Regions from separate parts of the Homo sapiens genome. Here regions 2 and 3 are each linked to region 1. Evidence: promoter capture Hi-C in human tissues and cell types (Jung and others, 2019). All regions are on one chromosome and are shown on one strand. Each heading gives the region's core, a stretch centred on a gene start or on the middle of the fragment in contact. The rest is flanking DNA. Distances are from core to core; before and after follow the strand shown. Region 1 holds the start of DNMT3L (DNA methyltransferase 3 like). Region 2 overlaps TSPEAR (thrombospondin type laminin G domain and EAR repeats). Region 3 overlaps TRAPPC10 (trafficking protein particle complex subunit 10).

The links. Contacts are between HindIII fragments. The study calls those that stand out against the background at their distance.
Region 2: a fragment that was not itself captured here is called in contact with the fragment with the promoter of DNMT3L in region 1 in 2 of the 25 tissues and cell types used here (dorsolateral prefrontal cortex and spleen).
Region 3: a fragment that was not itself captured here is called in contact with the fragment with the promoter of DNMT3L in region 1 in 1 of the 25 tissues and cell types used here (lymphoblastoid cells).

What each region holds. Positions count from the first base shown.
Region 1 is chr21:44,259,790-44,263,559 of GRCh38, reverse strand. It overlaps DNMT3L (DNA methyltransferase 3 like), which reads left to right and starts at 1,663. Exons shown (of 12, transcript NM_175867.3): 1 at 1,663-1,820; 2 at 2,294-2,406; 3 at 2,721-2,765. The coding sequence starts at 2,301. RefSeq lists an enhancer at 1,389-1,948. The HindIII fragment of the contact is 12,940 bases long and covers 1-3,770 here.
Region 2 is chr21:44,500,418-44,504,187 of GRCh38, reverse strand. All of the region lies in intron 11 of TSPEAR (thrombospondin type laminin G domain and EAR repeats), which reads left to right. Among named protein-coding and RNA genes, the nearest start is that of TSPEAR-AS1, 3.7 kb to the left of the region's middle. RefSeq lists an enhancer at 507-1,026. The HindIII fragment of the contact is 6,330 bases long and covers 1-3,770 here.
Region 3 is chr21:44,082,156-44,085,925 of GRCh38, reverse strand. TRAPPC10 (trafficking protein particle complex subunit 10) reads right to left here. Exons shown (of 23, transcript NM_003274.5): 14 at 2,624-3,138; 15 at 1,663-1,804. Among named protein-coding and RNA genes, the nearest start is that of PWP2, 23 kb to the left of the region's middle. The HindIII fragment of the contact is 7,855 bases long and covers 1-3,770 here.

The DNA of each region.
Region 1 (3,770 bases), core at 414-2,913:
ACTCTCCCGCTGGGCGGCCTGACTGCCCCAGTGAGGAGGGCTCAGGCACTGGGCCGCCTCTGCTCCGACCCAGTTCACTCCTGGAGAGGCTGGGCTGTGGGTGGGGGGAGAAAGCCCCGGTGCGGGGCACCCACCCAGGCGAATCCTCCCCGAGACGCTGGCCTGGGCCAGGGGCCAAGGGGTCATCAGGCTGCCCCTGTGTGGTCACCCCTCATGCAGTACTTGCAGAAGGAAGTCACCAGGCCCAGCCCACACTTCAGGGGGGTTACCTCCCGCAAGGGTCTTCTCCCACTTTCGACCAGCACAATTGTCCTGTGGCTCCAGCCCTGCCCGGCGGTCCTCCGCCCCCTGCTCTGAAGCCCCTAACCTCCCTCCAACAAAGTCCCCCTTCCCAACCCACCCCGCACCTCCCACACTGCCCCTCTGCCCACCCCACCTTCCTGCTCCCTTCCCTGCTTCCACGTTCCACCCCCACCCTGAACCTACCCCTCCCAGCTCCCCAACCCCCCACCTGCCCTGACATTCCCCACCCAACACCCCTTACCCCATCCTCCAGGGCCTTCCCTGTTTCCTTCTCTCCCCCACAGCTGCCCCCCAAACCTGGGGCTCCAGACTGAGCTCCCAAGCCCGGCTCCTGAACGCCCCTCCCTCTATCCCGCCAGAGGACCACCTCCCCTGAACACCCCCATCTCCTCCTCACCATCTACCCCCACCCCCACTCCCATCCCAACCGACCCTGAGATCCCTGAGGCCCATCCCCACCCCATTCTCACCCCTATCCTGCCCTAAAGGCCACCTCCCCTGAAACCCCCATCCTCGGCCTCACACCCCCATTCCTACTTTCACCCCGTCTCTACCCTTGCCCTGAGCCCCGACCCCCGCCACTGAGCCCTGCCCCGGAGTGCCCACCCTCACCCTATCATCACCCCCATCCCGCCAAAGGACCACCTCCCCTGAAGGCCCCCATCTCCAACTCAGCATCCACCCCCACCCCCACTCCCTAATCCCCCAACAGATCTCCCTAAGCCCCGCCCTCCACCCACCCACCCTGCCCTGAGGGCCACCTCCACTAATCCTCACCCATCTCCACCCAGGGGGCCAACTCCACCTAACCCCCCGCCCTGCCCTACCTCCACCCTCCACCCTCCACCCTCCACCCCTCCACCCCTCCACCCTCCACCCTCATCCCTTTCTTCACCCTTGCCCTGAAGCCCACCCCTATGACCTTCCTAAACCCCACCTCTGAGCGCCCTGCCCCTACCCCACAGCCACCCCTATCCCCCACCCCACCCCAAGGGCCCCCCTCTACTGAAACCCCCCTCATCTGCCCCATCCCCAGTCCTCCCATCTCCACCCCTCCCCTGAACCCCACTCCCCACTGAGGTCCCCAAACCCCACCCCTCACTCCACCCTGAGGGCCCCATCCTCTGAACCCCAATCCCCCAGCCCCACTGAGCTCTTAACCCTCCCCACCTGAGGGTTCCCTTTCCCTGCCCGTCCCCCAGCTTCCTAGCTCCCCACCCCAAGTGACCCCCCGCAGCTCCTCGCCCCTCCCACTGCAAACCGGCACTGAAGGGCTGCCCCGCCCCCGCCCCTCCCCGCCCCCGCGGGACACGCCCAGATTCTTTGCCCCCATAGCCTGGTGACCTCTGGCCACCCGCTGTCCCAGGTGGGCCTGGATCCTTCCAGCTCATTCTTTGCCTGCGCCGTCCCTCGTTCCATGGCCCAGTCCTCCCCGGGGACCCTGAGCCTGGAAGCCCCGGACCACTGGAACCTTGAACCCACCAGCTGGCTGTACCCGGAGCCGTGGCAGCAGCCCTGTGAGTCTCTTTCCTACTCCCTGACCATGCTGCCTTCAAGGGTGCGGCTGGCCAAGACCATCCCCAGGGGTCCCTGCTGGGCCTGAGGGACACTGTAGGAGGCTGGGGCATGGGAGTCCCTGAGGGGTCGAAGGCTGGGCCCAGAGGAAAGCAGGGGCTGCAGCGGCCATTGGCCCCAGGTCCTCATGAGGGCCCTGCCCTCCCCTTTTTGCCCCATCTTCCATGTTGTAACAGGGCCAGGCAGGTGGGGGGCACGCCTCAGGGGACCCTTGAGCCCCTCTCAGGGCTGGCACTGGCCTTGGCTGTCCTGCCCCTCATCCCTGGGTTGGGCAGGTGGGTGTCACCGCGGGGGTTCAGGTGGCCTGAACTAGTCAAGGTCTGCTCAGCAAGCTGCTTCCCGTGCTGGGGTGCATCAGGGATCTGAGCAGGGGCTGACGGCTTTCTCACATCTGTGTCCGTGTGTCCTGACACAGCATCCCCATGGCGGCCATCCCAGCCCTGGACCCAGAGGCCGAGCCCAGCATGGACGTGATTTTGGTGGGATCCAGTGAGCTCTCAAGCTCCGTTTCACCCGGGACAGGCAGAGGTGAGGGCTCATCTGCTTATTGGACCAGTCACTTAGGATGCTGATCCCAGGCCTGGATGAGGTCTGGAGTTCCAGGCTTCTGGAGTATTCATGCATTATTCAGGCACCCGGGCTGGGGCAGGAGGTTCCCCACCCACAGTCTTCCCCCAGGTATGGGCGTTTAACACACCAAGATAAGGTGTGAGGGCGGGATGGCAGGGGACCTCAGGCTCCTGTGACTTTGGAAAACGAATTGTGATGCTCACTTCCTGGCCGAATTTAAATTAAGAGATCAGAGGAAGAAGAAAGGGGCTACTTCTTATCTTCCTTTCCAGATCTTATTGCATATGAAGTCAAGGCTAACCAGCGAAATATAGAAGGTGAGTGTTTGCATACTGGCCCACACCAGACAAAAGAGACGGGGCACAGTGGCTCACACCTATAATCCCAGCACTTTGGGAGACCAATGTGGGAGGATCATTTGAGCCCAGGAGTTTGAGACCAGCCTAGGCAACATAGTGAGACTCTGTCTCTACAAAAAAATAAAAATAAAAATTAACCAGGCATGGTGGCATGCACCTGTAGTCCCAGCTACTCAGGAGGCTGAGTTGGGAGGATTGCTTGAGCTGGGGAGGTCGAGGCTGCAGTGAGCTATGATAACACCACTGCACTCCAGCCTGGGTGACGGTGAGATCCTGGAAGGAGGCAGTGGACACCACTGTGCCACGTGTATCCCTTCTCCCCCTCCCAAGGCCCCTGTAGCTTCATTTAAAGCATATAGTTTAATGTATTTTAGTTTATTTACAGAGTCAGCAACCATCATCACCATCTAATTTTAGAAGGTTTTCATCACCCTGAAAAGAAAACCCATGTCTAGTAACAGTCACTCCAAATTCCCCCTTCTTGCTTCCCTTCTTTTAACTCTAGGCAACCACTCCTCGACTTTCTCTCAACGTGGGTTTGCCTTTTCTGGATCCTTTGCATTTCCGTATGAATTTAGGATCAGCCTGTCAACTCCTGCCCAAAAGCCAGCTGGGATTTTGAGAGGGCTCTGCAGCTCCATTTGGGGACTCATGCTATTTTAACAATATTAAGTCTTCTTCTTTTTTTTTTTTTTTTTTTTTTTGAGACACACTCTCACTCTGTCCCCCAGGCTGGAGTGCAGAGGCATGATCTTGGCTCATAGCAACCTCTGTCTACCAGGTTCAAGTGATTCTCCTGCTCAGCCTCCTAAAGTGCTGGAATTACAGGCATGAGCCACCACACCCAGCCAATGTTAAATCTTCTGATCCATGAACATGGGATATCTTTCCATTTTGTTCCATCTTCCTTAACATCTTCCAACAATACTTTGCAGTTTTCAGTGTATAAGTCTCATATTTGTT
Region 2 (3,770 bases), core at 861-3,360, 240 kb before region 1:
GCTCACCAAGGCCGGCCTCCTCCAAGAGACTTGCTTCCCCACTGTGGGCTCACTGAGGCCGGCTTCCTCCCAGAGCCTTGCTTCCCCACTGTGGGCTCACCAAGGCCAGCTTCCCCCCAAGGGCTCACCGAGGCCAACTTCCTCCCAGAGCCTTGCTTCCTGCTGAGGGCTCACCGAGGCCGGCTTCCTCCCAGAGCCTTGCTTCCCCGCCGAGGGCTCACCAACTCCGGCCTCCTCCCAGAGCCTTGCTTCCCGCCGAGGGCTCACCGAGGCCAGCTTCCTCCCAGCACATTGCTTCCCCCCTGTGGGCTCACCAAGGCCGGCTTCCCCCCAAGGGCTCACCAAGGCCGGCCTCCTCCCAGCGCCTTGCTTCCCCCCGAGGGCTCACCGAGGCCAGCTTCCTCCCAGAGCCTTGCTTCCCCCCGAGGGCTCACCAACTCCGGCCTCCTCCCAGAGCCTTGCTTCCCGCCGAGGGCTCACCGAGGCCGGCTTCCTCCCAGAGCCTTGCTTCCCCGCTGTGGGCTCACCAAGGCCGGCTTCCCCCCAAGGGCTCACCAAGGCCGGCCTCCTCCCAGCGCCTTGCTTCCCCCTGAGGGCTCACCGAGGCCAGCTTCCTCCCAGCACATTGCTTCCCCACTGTGGGCTCACCAAGGCCGGCTTCCCCCCAAGGGCTCACCAAGGCCGGCCTCCTCCCAGAGCCTTTCTTCCCCCCGAGGGCTCACCGAGGCCGGCTTCCTCCCAGAGCCTTGCTTCCCCCCGAGGGCTCACCAACTCCGGCCTCCTCCCAGAGCCTTGCTTCCCGCCGAGGGCTCACCGAGGCCGGCTTCCTCCCAGAGCCTTGCTTCCCCCCGAGGGCTCACCAAGGCCGGCCTCCTCCCAGAGCCTTGCTTCCCCCCGAGGGCTCACCGAGGCCAGCTTCCTCCCAGCACACTGCTTCCCCCCGTGGGCTCACCAAGGCCGGCCTCCTCCCAGCGCCTTGCTTCCCCCCTGTGGGCTCACCAAGGCCGGCTTCCACCCAAGGGCTCACCGAGGCCGGCCTCCTCCCAGAGCCTTGCTTCCCCCCGAGGACTCACCGAGGCCGGCCTCCTCCCAGAGTCTTGCTTCCCCCTGAGGGCTCACCGAGGCCAGCTTCCTCCCAGAGCCTTGCTTCCCCCCGAGGGCTCACCGAGGCCGGCTTCCTCCCAGCACCTTGCTTCCCCACTGTGGGCTCACCGAGGCCAGCTTCCTCCCAGAGCCTTGCTTCCCCGAGGGCTCACTGAGGCCAGCTTCCTCCCAGCGCCTTACTTCCCCGAGGGCTCACCGAGGCCGGCCTCCTCCCAGAGCCTTGCTTCCCCCCAAGGGCTCACCGAGGCCGGCCTCCTCCCAGAGCCTTGCTTCCCCCCGGGGGCTCACCTTCTCTCGCAGGTGCCACCGGCTCACAGCGAGTCCCAAGTCAGGTGTCATTTCCGAGATTGGCTGGGCCCAGTGGATGGCCCGGCGCTGGCTGCACCCGTGTGGGATCTGAGCTGGGGCCCTGCCCCGGGTGTAGCCACAACCCACGAGTGCTGGTGCTTCTGCCTTTGGATTCTGTCAGGGATGCGGCGTGTGGACATCCTAACATGGGAGTTGTTGATATTTAATTTTTCTCTCATAGACACTGTGGTGTTCTCATTTATTTCCAGGAGTTTTCCAAGTATCGTACGTTTAACGAATGGGGTTGGCTTTTTAACTTTCATTTGCAGCTGCTCATCATGACAATCATTTTCTCGCCCCCTAACCAATCAGTTCTAATAGCTTTTCTTAAAAAGATTCTCAGGGGACTTAGGAATGTAATTACCTCTGAGAATAAAGAACATTTCCCCTTGATTTCTAGTGTTCTAATTGATTATGTAGCTTGCTTCCCTAGCTAAAGATTCCAGAACAATCTTGGATGGCGGCAGAAGTGGCAGCTGTCCCACCTTGCTCTAATTTAACGAGCACATCTGAGCATGGCCGTTTGATGGGCTGTGGGCCATCCGGGCCAGGGCTGAGGTCTCCTTTGGCATCTGTGAGTGCGTGGTGCGGTCCACTATGTTTACTGTTGATGTCATGATTTATAGTGAGACATCTCCTCGCGTTATTAGACCCGATGCCACTTGGTGATGATGCAGAATTATTGAATAAGCCACTGGCTTCCAATTGCCTGTCTTTAAGCTTTTAGCATCTATAATAGGAAATTAGATTGCTCGGTGGTTTTCTTTTGGGGACTTAACTTTATCCAGTTTAAAATGAAGCCTAACAGTAAATACACACTGCAGGGCTTTCTAACTGCACCTGTGGACTGGGATAGTCTGAAGAATAGGATTTTTTCTCTCATTTCTGACAGCTGGGTTAAATTCAGTTATAAAGCCATCTGGGCCTGGGTACCTTTTTAATAATATCTCCTTCTTATTTATTTTTTGGGGGGGACAGGGTCTCACTCTGTAGCCCAGGCTGAAGTGCAGTGGCATAACCTCAGCTCATTGCAGGCTGAAATTCCCAGGCTCAAGCAATCCTCCCACCTCAGCCTCCCTAGTCGCTGGGACCACAGGCATGGGCCAACCATGCCTGGCTAATTTTATTTTTTCTTTTTGGAGATGGAGTCTCGCTTTGTCGCCCAAGCTGGAGTGCAGTGGCCCAGTCTCGGCACACTGCAAGCTCCGCCTCCTGGGTTCACGCCATTCTCTTGCTTCAGCCTCCTGAGTAGCTGGGACTACAGGCACCTGCCACCACACCTGGCTAATTGTTTTGTATTTTTTAGTAGAGATGGGGTTTCACTGTGTTAGCCAGGATGGTCTCGATCTCCTGACCTTGTGATCTGCCCGCCTCGGCCTCCCAAAGTGCTGGGATTACAGGCATGAGCCACTGCGCCTAGCCCATGCCTGGCTAATTTTTGTATTTTTAATAGAGATGGGGTTTCACTATGTTGGCCAGGCTGTTCTCGAACTCCTGACCTCAAGTGATCTGCCCGCCTCAGCCTCCCAAAGTGCTGAGATTATAGGCGTAAGCCACCCCGCCCGGCCATAAATGCTATATTTGAAGGCAATGAGAAAAGGATGGGTTTTACTTGATAACTCCATATGATTCGGGAGATTAGCTTCATGTAATCTGGAAGAAAACAAAGCTTACCCCCACTTCACATTGTACACAAAAATAAATGTTATATGGATTAAAAGTCCAAATGTGAAAAAGAAGAAAAGCTGAAGGCAGTTGTATAACCTCAGGGTTCTATGAAGAAGACAAGCCCAGAAGGAAAGGCACTGGGTCGACCACCTGTGTTAAAAGCTTTCTATGGAAACAGACATCCTATTCAAAAGCAAAAGACAAACTCTTTACCACACACACGACAGAAAACCAACCCTTACAAACTAATAAAAAATGTGTCTTTAAATTTGGAAAAATGGACAAAAGATATAAATATGAATTTTTAGAAGAAAAGATGAACAGTGTGAATAAACATTATAAGGGATTTGTCCTCAAAGCAAAACCCTGCCAGGTTCTCCCCCATTTGTTTGGAAGTGTGTTAAAGATGGGCAGTGGAGTGGGTTGGGGGATCCCAGGGGGACCCCACCCTGCCCTTTCCCGTGAGAGCAGAAGCCACCACGGTTTTTCCAGAAAGCAGTCTGGAAGAATTTATTTTCATACTTTATTATTTAATATTAAATGTAAACAACTCGTGCCCTTTGATGTCGGCGCCCTGCCTTGGGGACTCCACGCCTCGGAAATGGAAGCTCCTGGGATAAATGAGTCCTTTTGAAGGCAAACCCTGGCGG
Region 3 (3,770 bases), core at 461-2,960, 180 kb after region 1:
GAAGAAACAGGCAAATAAATAAATCGTTGCTAGCCCGAACAAAGGAGACATTCACTCACTCTTGTTCAGCTGCCACATGTTCTTCAATCATTTGTTTATAGCAACTCCTTCCAATTTTAGAACTTATCAGAAAGGACAATAGCTTTGAATTTCTCAAATGCCATGCCAGACGGACAAGTTTAATCAACCCTTTCAAAGGAAAACTTTTTTTTTTTTTAAGAGATGGAGTTTTGTTCTGTCACCCACGCTGGAGAACAGTGGCGCAATCACAGCTCCCTGAGGCCTCAAACTCCTGGGCTCAGGAGGCTGAGGCAGGAGCCTCAGCTGGGGCTCCAGCCTGTAGCTAGGACTAGAGGCCGTGGCGCACGACTACACCCAGCTAATTTACTTCATTTTTTTATTTTGCAGAGATGGGGTTTTGTCATCCTGCCCCGACTGGCTTACCCATGCTGGTCTCAAAGCCTTGGCCTCCCAAAGTGCTGGGATCTGAGTATAGATCCTAACTAAATCTAGTGTTTAGCATTTGAAACGTACTTCTAAGCAGGAAATTATATACATATTTATGAAACCCTGTGGTAGACATTAGCTGCTTCTTGGCCTAATGTGACACTGTAAAATACACATGTAGTTTTCAACCCCATTTCCAGGCATACTAGCTCCCAAATTCCTTAGAATCTCCAAAGTGATGTCTTTTTGTAGGCTAATGAGTTGATTGGAGGCTGGCAGCTCCAAGGTAGCTTCAAGATGAGGACTGGTCACCAGAATGACCAGGGCAGGATTAGAGGGTCGGGCCTTTCAGCAGTGGCACCCAACCTCCAGGGAGGAAAGAGGGGCTGAAGGTCGAGTTGCTCATCAGTGGCCAGTGGTGTAATCGATCATGCCTGTGTAATGTCACTTCCATAAAAACCAAAGGACAGGGTCTGGAGAGCTTTCAGGCAGCTGAACACATGGAGGTTCCTGGAGGGTGGCGCCCAGGGAGGGCGTGGAAGCTCTGCACCCCTTTCCCCATACCTCACCCTCCACACTTCTTCATCTATATCCCTTATAATAATCCAGTCAACCTGTTTCCCTGAGTTCTGTGAGCTGTTCTAACAAATTCATCAAACCCAGAAAGGGGGTTGTGAGAGCCCTGATTTCTAGCTAGTTGGTCAGGAGCACAAGCAAAAGAACCCTGGGCTGGTGGCTGGCATGGGAAGGGGGGGACTGTCTTGGGGACTGAGCCCTCACCCTGTGGTGTCTGACGCCAGCTCCAGTAGACAGGGTCAGAACTGAATTGCAGGACCGACTGCTTGCTTGCTGGCAGGGGGAAATCCCTGCACATTTGGGCCCAGAAGTCCTCTGCATTGACCATTAGGTTGAGTGAGCCAATAGAAAAAAATACCTTGAGTTTCTTTTTTCCACTCTCAGAGCTAATTCTTCTGTGTTTCTTATTTTCAGATACACCATGTTTATTAAACATGAAAAAGCAATTACAGGAAAGCAAACATTCAGATAAACAAAAGAGGCAGTCAGCTAGTTCCCAGGCAAAATTTCCATTATGTTACCCAAAATATCTCTTAAAGGCAGACACAGCTAAAACTTATGAGAAGCCTGGCATCTCAGCAGGTCTCCTCAGAACTGCCCCAGCAGCACGCCTCCTCAAAGGCTGGGGACCCCACTCACCAGCCAGCGGCTCCACGTGCAGCTGGGGCTCCTGTGAGTACACGTCGTACTGCACAATGGGGTAGATGTGAGGGAGGACGAACCACACGGAGCCCACCGAGGCGCACAGCTGCCTGAGTGTATACGTTCCAGGTTCCTTGGCCTAGAGTCAAAGAATCAGGCATTTGAAACCACGTCACCCAGTTTTGCAGTTAGCTTCCTGCGGTAGCGCGGTGCAGCGGTCTCTCTGAACTCCAGAAAGGCCTGTACTTCTTTCCCTCTTGTACCCCCTGCTCTTGTGCCTAAACCTCTAAGCTTGGGCTCTTCACAAGGCCCTCAGAATCTCTCAATTCGTGATTTTCTGAGTAACTGATGCTTAAATTTAACTTTAATAAGGTATTTTCAACTTATCTAAACTGTATTTGTGGCATTGTAGAGACATTCAGCACGAGATTTAAGCCCTGCCCTAGACTAAAAAATGTGACAAATAGCTGTACTTTCCACAGGCCAAATCCTGTTGAGTTAGTGGAACTTACAGGATATCCTGTGTCAGAGAAAACTTTATGTTAGAGTGGGTGAGAAACACCAGTTTTGACACCCAGCCAGCCACAAAAGGAAAATAAGTTTGAGTGGGAAAGTGTACCACCTTCTTTGAAAGCTCATTTTAACAAATGAGGGTGTGTATTTTCATATGCAGGGGGGAAAGCTAACTGAATCCAATAATCCAATGAGTTAAAAAGCTAACTTAATCTAAGAACAAATATCTACGTTAAGAACTTCACTCAGAATTTATCAAATGTCAGAAAATTGTATAAAACACGAAAGAAAACATCAGTGTATTTTTGTATAAGGACAGAGACAAAAACAGGGTTAGGAGAACAAAGGACTCTACTCAATTCACAGCACACTCCAGACAGTTCTTGTAAGCTCCACGGCCCTGCTTTACAAACTTGAAAGTCAAGTTCCCACCCTGAACGCATACCTGAGTCCTGAATGTTATCTGGTTGGCCCCTGGTTCCAGGGTCACGTGGCTGCACCTCAGCACGTGGGCACCCTCCTCCAGAGCCACCCCTGAGGGCATCTCTAGAGAGGAGCTGCTCTCCTGCCTTCTCAGGAGCATGTGGACGTTTCTGCAGATAATCCCAGTCGTGTTCAAGGAGTTATCAGATGGGCTTCTCTCAAACATTTCATACAACTCCAGCGCGGGCAAACTGTTTTGGGATACAGGGAAAGGTGCGGTCTCGGGTGGAAAGTTAATGATCCCATTGGACGTCTTGTGCTTGGTAAGCCACTCCGCAGTCTTCCGGTAGCTGTTTTTCTCAATGCTGAAGTGGACATTGACCACAATCTGCTCCACGTGAACAGGCACAGGCATCTGGCTGTACATGGTTATCTCAACGCACAAAACGCCGCCCACGTGGACCACGGCATTGGAGGGATCAAAATGGAGATCTCGCAGTTGTGCAAAGGAATGCATGGGTAGCACTATCTTATGACCTGTAAATAGACATTATCGTAAGTGACTCCCCAAGTCACACTTCCTGACAGTAAGCAGCAGCAGGCCGCGGACACAGTAAGATCACCGAGAGCAGACTGAAGCAAGCAGCAGTGATGGGCACAGCAGCTGAGCCCAGCCTCCTGCCATCTTCACACCCCCCAAAGGCTATTGTATCAAAAGCAGAATATTAGCAAATACCTACGTAATGCCTAGAAATCATAAAATGTACAGAAATTAACCTTCTCAAGTCTGCTTTGACAAACCTAAGAGAAATACAGGTCAACTACCTCTCAATTTCAAACGACAATTTGTAAATAGTCCAATTTCTACAGCTATTTCCAAGGGATTCCAATATTTTCTCACCTACTTAAAAACATGCTCAGTGAAGATGCCCAAGTGCCCTGCTGTGATGTGGAAACAAACCCCAGGTGTCTGCCAGTCTACAAAGTCAGCCGATTAAGCAGGACCCCTCTGTGCCCCCAGGCCCAGGATGGCAGCAACCAGCCAGGTCTACAGTTGCTGCTGGAATGAGAGCCTAATGCTCTCTCTGGGCCCTTCTCTCTCTGACCGAACTGTAAGTACCTTGGTTTTGTCTAGAAAATACACAAGGCTGCAGAAGTGACCAGTTAAG